Linked DNA regions of Homo sapiens: region 2 is linked to region 1. Evidence: promoter capture Hi-C in 16 types of primary human blood cells and fetal thymus (Javierre and others, 2016). All regions are on one chromosome and are shown on one strand. The core of a region is centred on a gene start or on the middle of the fragment in contact, and the rest is flanking DNA. Distances in the headings are between cores, read along the strand shown. Region 1 holds the start of BAG3 (BAG cochaperone 3). Region 2 has its middle 6.6 kb from the start of PRDX3.

Region 1 (3,595 bases), core at 587-3,086:
TTTCAAGAATAAATATACAACTAATCTCTCGTAAATGTAAACTGCTGCCTGTACACGGTCTCACTGCTGGGCACCGGAGTTTTATCAATATTGTTAAAACAAAAAGTGCATAAAGATGAAGGGAAATAATACAGGTCTTTCTTCTAAAACAATGGGTTACACAGCAGTTTTAATTTGGTGAGTTTTTAAATCTTCAAAATAATTTACCAGCTCTTTGCTGCTTTTATCTTGCCCAGACGGCGTTAACAATTCAGCTTTAAGTATAACATATTTATTTTAAAAACTTTTTATCCTGAAAGCTCAAATTTATAAAAAATTGAAAGAATAGTATAACTAACTCTGATTTTTGAAAATTAACACACTCATTCCAAATTTACATTTTCAAATTTCATGCTCTTGGGGATTAAGAAGTATATATCCTTGCATGTATGTAAATGAGACATACTTCTGCTGTATTCACAAGAGTATCATTAGTCAGTTATTTGTGTACTGGTAACAAATCCTAAGTATTTTAATACCATAACAAGGCAGGAAGCGAATGCCATTATAAATATACACGTATCATTCTCTTTCTCTCCAGTGTGAGGCAATGTGGTAAGGCAATGGCCAACTGTAAGACAGTCTCAGATCTCTAGTCTAGATCTCTAGAAACTGCTGGGGAGAAGCACACCCTGTTTTTTATTTTACAAATCATACTAGGATACGTTCATATTGAAAGCACTTTCAAACAATAATACAATTTTAATTTAAAATACACACACACACATATATATATGAATGTTTTGACACCAGCCTCCAGAGTCATTGGGTGCCTAACATGGGACAGTAGCCAAGATACCCCTCAACCAAGTTGGAGAACTTGAGCGGTAAAATTCCCCCCAAAACCACCATCCAAGCTTGCGAGTGTCCCCCTCGAGTCCGCGGTCAGCAGGGTGCGCCGCGGGTCCCGGGCCCGGAGGCCGAGCGGGCAGCAGGGGCCACGGTGGGCCGGGGCCTCCGGAGCTGACCAGGCCGGCCGCCCCTCTCCCAGCCCTAGAGCGCGAGGCCAGCGCTGGACACCCGGCCTTCCGCCCTGGAGTCGAGCCGTGGACGGCACCGGAGCCACTGCGGGGTCGCTTCCCGGGCCACCGAATCCCGGGGCCTCCTTTCGCCCCGACGCCTGTCAAGGGCGGGTCCGGAGCGGGGACTCGTCCGGGCGCAGCGGGAGTGTGTGGCGGGGCGCGGAGCCGGTGTCCGCCCGCGAGGGGCCTTCGCCGACCCCCGGGCCCCGCCGCCTCGCGTCCCCCCGGCCCAGCCCACTCCCCGCCGCCTGCCGTCGAGGTGGCGCCACCGACCAGGGCGGGCCGCGGGCCCGGCTCACCTTGGGGCCCTCAGAGGGCACGCGCGGGTCGTTCCACGTAGTGGTGCGGCTGTTGTGGTCCACGAAGAAGGGCCAGCCGGTCTGCGGGTCGATCTTGATCTCCCATCCGGGGGGCAAAGGGTCGCGGTCACCGTTGCCGGACGCCACCTGCATCATGGGCGAGTGGGTGGCGGCGCTCATGCTGGGTTGGGGTCTGCCCGCTGGGGCGCGGGTGCGGGGCGCTGGCTCCGGGCGCCGAGTCTCTGGCCGGGCCGCCGCCGTGGGCCCCTCTCCGCCGCCGACGTGTCCGGGAAGCCGGCGCCGGGCACCTTTATGAATTAAAGGCGGGGGTGACGTGGCCAGAGAGGGGTGGAAGTGTCTGGAAATAGCCTCCTCGCTGCCAGAGGGGAAGGAGGAGATAAAGGGAGGTAGCAACTGGCCGGCTAGAAACTTCTGGTCCAGTCCAGAGAAGTTGGCCGCGGCCCGGGGTTGGATGCGGAGCTCCGCCCTGAGTCATCGGCTATAATCGCGGCGGGCGGGGCAGAGGAGCGGGGGCGGGGCCTCGGCCCGCTCGCCCCTCCCCCACCTCCTCCCGCCCCTCCCCCTTCCGACTCGTGCGCGTGCCCGGGCCGGAGTCGCCGCGGGCGGGCGCGGGCGCGGCTTCGGGGTCCGCCTGCGGGTGGGAAGCCGGACGAGCTGGACTGGGGCCGTCCTCCGTGCGCCCCGGGCGGGTTTCGGCTTTCATAGTCGCTCTCTCCCTCTCCTTTGCGCCGAGTGAGTGTTCCCGGGGCCGGAGCCCGTGCTCCCCGTGCCTGCCGCCCGTCCTTCCTGTACAAACAAAACCATCTCGCCCACCTCCACCCCCTCCCCCATATATGATAGCCGAGGACCCTGAGGGCTGTCCGGGAGGAGCGCGGGGACTCTCATCTGACACCGGAAGGAAGCCAGGGAGAAAATGGAAGTCAGTGCAAACTCACCTGCCTTCCTTTGGAAACTTCAAGAAAAAAAGAGATTGTATCAACTGATGGCTTTTAGTCTCCTAGACTAAAAAGAAAGTTTCGTTGCAGCTTTAAAGATAAATCACATTTTCTTGGGTCTGGATCTTTTTTATGGTAGAGATTGGTTCTTGCTATCTTATATCTTGACCCTGATTTGGGAAGTAAAGACCGAATAACCATGACATTTTTTGTTTGGTTTATTCAATTGCACTTGTAACCTGTCAAAGGAGAAAATTACAACACATTTAAAGATCTTTTTTGTTGTTGTTGTTGTTGATTTTCATTTTTTAACTTTTATTGTTAAAGATCTTATTTGTGATTCTAGAAATTGGGCAACATCTCCATTAAATTAGAATAAGTGCTCCCATGAGCTGAGCAGAAGAGGTTGGTTTTATAGACAGAGAAGGGCTGAAGAAAGCAGAAACAAAGAACCAAGACTGGATTGGTTGTTTCAAAATTACTTTCCTTGTAAGGAGGGGACAGAGAGACAGAATCATAGAAAAATAACTGATGAGGGCTTGCCACCATGGCTCATGCCTATAATGCCAGCACTTTGGAAAGTCAAGACTGGAGGACCTCTTGAGTCCAGGAGTTTGAGACCAGCCTGGACAACACAGTAAGACCCCCATCTCTGCATAAACAAAAAATAAGCCAGGTGCAGTGGCTTATGCCTGTAGTCCCAGCTACTCAGGAGGCTGAGGTGGGAGGCTCATTTGAGCCCAGGAGTTTGAAGCTGCCATGAGCTATGATTTTGCTCTTCATGCCAACCTAAGCGACAGAGCAAGACCCTATCTCTTTAAAAGAAAGAGAGAGAAAGAAAGAGAGAAATGATTGAGAGAAATGTAACATCAGGTTACATACTTCAGATTACTGTACAGTTGACCCTTAACATGGGTTTGAATTGAGCAGGTCCACTTGTACATGGATTTTTTTTCAATAAAAGTTACACCGATGTGCTTGCCTCTCCAGTCTCCCCTTCCACCTCCTCCACCTCTTCTGTCTCTGCCACCCCTTGACAGGAGAATCAACCCTTCCTCTTCCTTCCCCTCCTCAGCCTCCACGTGAAGATAATGAGGATGATGACGTTTATGATGATCACGTCCACTAAATGAGTAGTAAGTGTACTACTCTTCCTTATGTAAATGTAAAATCTCTTCCTTATGATTTTCTTAACATGTTCTTTTCTCTAGCTTACTTTATTGCACGAATACATATAATACATATACAACATATGTGTTAATTGACTGTTCATGTTATT
Region 2 (3,263 bases), core at 44-2,543, 470 kb after region 1:
CACAGTGAGGCCTGGTGCCTGGGAGTGGAGTACTTGAGATATTTCACTAAAGGACAGATGGTCAGTGCTCCTTCATGTCCTCACACAGCCCACATTTATAGTACCATCTCCTATTATGTCCCATCAAGCACATTATGCTCCAACAAATACTGTAGGAGGTCATACAATATTGCTTTAAGAGTTGGGGCACTTGGCCAGGCACGGTGGCTCACGCCTGTAATACCAGCACTTTGGGAGTCCAAGGTGAGTGGATCACGAGGTCAGGAGATGGAGACCATCCTGGCTAACACGGTGAAACCCCATCTCTACTAAAAATACAAAAAAATTAGCCAGGTGTGGTGGCGGGCGCCTGTAGTCCCAGCTACTCGGGAGGCTGAGGCAGGAGAATGGCGTGAACCCGGGAGGCGGAGCTTGCAGTGAGCTGAGATTGCGCCACCGCACTCCAGCCTGGGCGACAGGGCGAGACTCCATCTCAAAAAAAAAAAAAAAAAAAGAGTTGGGGCTCTGGCCTCACACCGGTAATCCCAACATTTTGGGAGGCCAAGGCAGGAGGACTGCTTGAGCCCAGGAGTTTGAGACCAACCTAGACAACATAGGAAGACCCTTCTCTACAAAAACTAACAAAATTAGCTGGGCTTGGTGATACACACTTGTGGTCCCAGCTCCTTGGGAGGCTGAGGTGGGAGGATTGTTTGAGCCCAGGAGGTTGAGGCTGCAGTGAGCCATGGTTGTGCCATTGCACTCCAGCCTGGATGACAGAGAGAGACCCTGTCTCAAAAACAAACAAACAAACAAAAAACAATAAAAATGAAAAGGAATGGGGGCTCTGCAGTCAGCTTTCAAGGTTTAAATCCTGGCTCCTTCCCTTTCCAGTTGTGGGACTTTGGACAAATTACTAAACCTTCCCAAGCATCAGTCTCCTCACCTTGGAAATGGGGATGATGAATTAAAAACAGTACCTGTGGCTGGGTGTGATGGCTCACACCTGTAATCCCTACACCTGGGGAGGCCGAGGCAGGCGGATCACTTGAGGTCAGGAGTTCGAGACCAACCTGGCCAACATGATGAAACCCCATCTCTACTAAAAATACAAAAATTAGCCAGGTGTGGTGGTGTGCACCTGTAATCCCAGCTACTTGGGAGGCTGAGGCAGGAGAATCACTTGAACCCAGGAGTGGAGTTTGCTGTGAGCTGAGATCATGCCATTGCACTTCAGCCTGAGTGACAGAGCAAGACTCTAAAACAAAACAAAACAAAACAAAACAAAAAACAAACCGAAAAAGCACCTGTGTCATAGGGTTGTGCAGACGGAATAGAGATACTGCATTCAACCCAGAGCGTAGCCCCATAGTGTGGTCACTGAAGATAACAGTAAACCAAAGGGACAAAGGTCACTAGTCACTTCCACCTGCCATCTTCCCCTTCACCTTCCCCAAGCAGCAGGATAGATGATTTCTCTGTGAAGCCCTTCTTGGCCCCTTTCTCTAAACCATGATAGCACTTCACTTGCACCTCTCTTTTATTTAATATAACGAACACTATGTGCCTGCTGACTGTGCTAATGCCTTTAAAATATGAACTCATTTATTCCTCACAAAAGCCCTTGGGGTAAGCACTAACATCATTTCAATTTTACAGATGGGAAAATGTGCTAAGTAACTTGCCCAAGGCCACGTGCCTGCAGCTAGCAGAGCTGGTGTGTCAATCTCAGCTGTCCACACTCAACCATTATGCCTCTTTCATGCCTCTTAAAATGCTGAATCTTGGACTGGGTTTTTTTTTTAATGATTTTATCAGTATTCCTTGGATACACACACAGTTCCTCGGCAGCAGGGTCTAAGTGATCCTCTCCAGTACATGTTTATTAATGATTAAAATCACATTGTTGGCTAGGGACGGTGGCTCATGCCTGTAATCCCAGCACTTTGGGAGGCCGAGGCGAGAGGATCACTTGAGGTCCGGAGTCCAAGACCAGCCTGGCCAACATGGCAAAACCTGGTCTCTACTAAAAATACAAAAATTAGCTAGTTGTGGTTGTGGGCACCTGTAATCCCAGCTACTCAGGAGGCTGAGGCAGAAGAATCTCTTGAACCCAGGAGGCAGAGGTTGCAGTGAGCCGAGATTGCACCACTGCACTCCAGCCTGGGCAACACAGCAAGATTCTAAAAAAAAAAAATCACATTGTTAATTGATCCAATACCAGAGGGCTCTCTATTTGGTACCTAATAGGACAGGAAACAGATTACTTCAGAGGCTAAAATGGGCAGGAATCATGCAGGAAATCTAACTGAAGGCAGCCGCAGGTGAATGGGGCTACATGGAAGACGGAAAGTAATGTTACCTTGAAGCAGCCAGGCACGGTGGCTCACACCTGTAATCCCAGCACTTTGGGAGGCCGAAGCGGGCCGATCACCTGCGGGCCAATCACCTGAGGTCAGGAGTTCGAGACCAGCCTGACCAACATGGCAAAACCCCATCTCCGCTAAAAACACAAAATTAGCTGGGCGTGGTGGTGCATGCCTGTAATCCCAGCTACTCAGGAGGCTGAGGTAGGAGAATCACTTGAACCTGGGAGGCAGAGGTTGCAGTGAGCCGAGATCGCACCATTGCACTTTAGCCTGGGCAACAAGAGCAAAACTCCGTCTCAAAAAAAAAAAAAAAAAAGAATTGCTTTCAGAGCCAATTATGAGGCCCTCAAGTAATGTTACCTTGAAGCCTAACCCTGCCTATGAGCTGGCACTAACTAATGCATCTGAGCTTTAAAACTGAAACCAGGATGAGTGAGGTGAAATTCTAAGGGAACTCCACTCTGCTCTGTCGCTTTGACTTGCACCATGCTTTACATTTTTATAGTGAAGTTTAGTTATGAGCCAAACTGCCTGTGTGCAGGAACTAAAAAACACACGCCTACAATAGGAGAGCAAGAGGCCCTCCAGCATGGGGAAGGGAGAGGTGGGCGGCAAAGGGCTGTGGGCATAAGGAGAAGAGAAGGCGACCCCTTGGCTTGGCTTTGCCCCCCTCCCCCCTCCCCTTTTGTTGACTTGAGCTACTGAAGCTTAAGTACTTTAAAACTGCAGGCTGTTGTGACAGTGGCTCATACCTGTAATCCCAGCACTTTGGGAGCTGGAGGATCACTTGAGGTCAGGAGTTCAAGGCCAGCCTGGGCAAGATAGCGAGACCTTGTTTCTACCAAAAAAACAACCCTGTAGTATGAGGGAGAAGAGGAGACGATGAGGGTGTGGATGACGTAATCTCACGAGTTG

Evidence for each region. The method cuts DNA at HindIII sites, captures the fragments that hold promoters and counts their contacts. A CHiCAGO score of 5 or more calls a contact.
Region 2: a contact is called between a fragment that was not itself captured here and the fragment with the promoter of BAG3 in region 1, in 1 of 17 cell types (non-activated CD4 T cells). The highest score is 5.2, in non-activated CD4 T cells.

The regions. Positions count from the first base shown.
Region 1 is chr10:119,649,621-119,653,215 of GRCh38, reverse strand. It overlaps BAG3 (BAG cochaperone 3), which reads right to left and starts at 1,836. Exons shown (of 4, transcript NM_004281.4): 1 at 1,361-1,836. The coding sequence starts at 1,540. RefSeq lists a silencer at 1,784-2,083 and enhancers at 2,284-2,363, 1,744-2,698. The HindIII fragment of the contact is 5,264 bases long and covers 899-3,595 here.
Region 2 is chr10:119,183,793-119,187,055 of GRCh38, reverse strand. No RefSeq gene overlaps it. Among named protein-coding and RNA genes, the nearest start is that of PRDX3, 6.6 kb to the right of the region's middle. The HindIII fragment of the contact is 3,528 bases long and covers 1-3,057 here.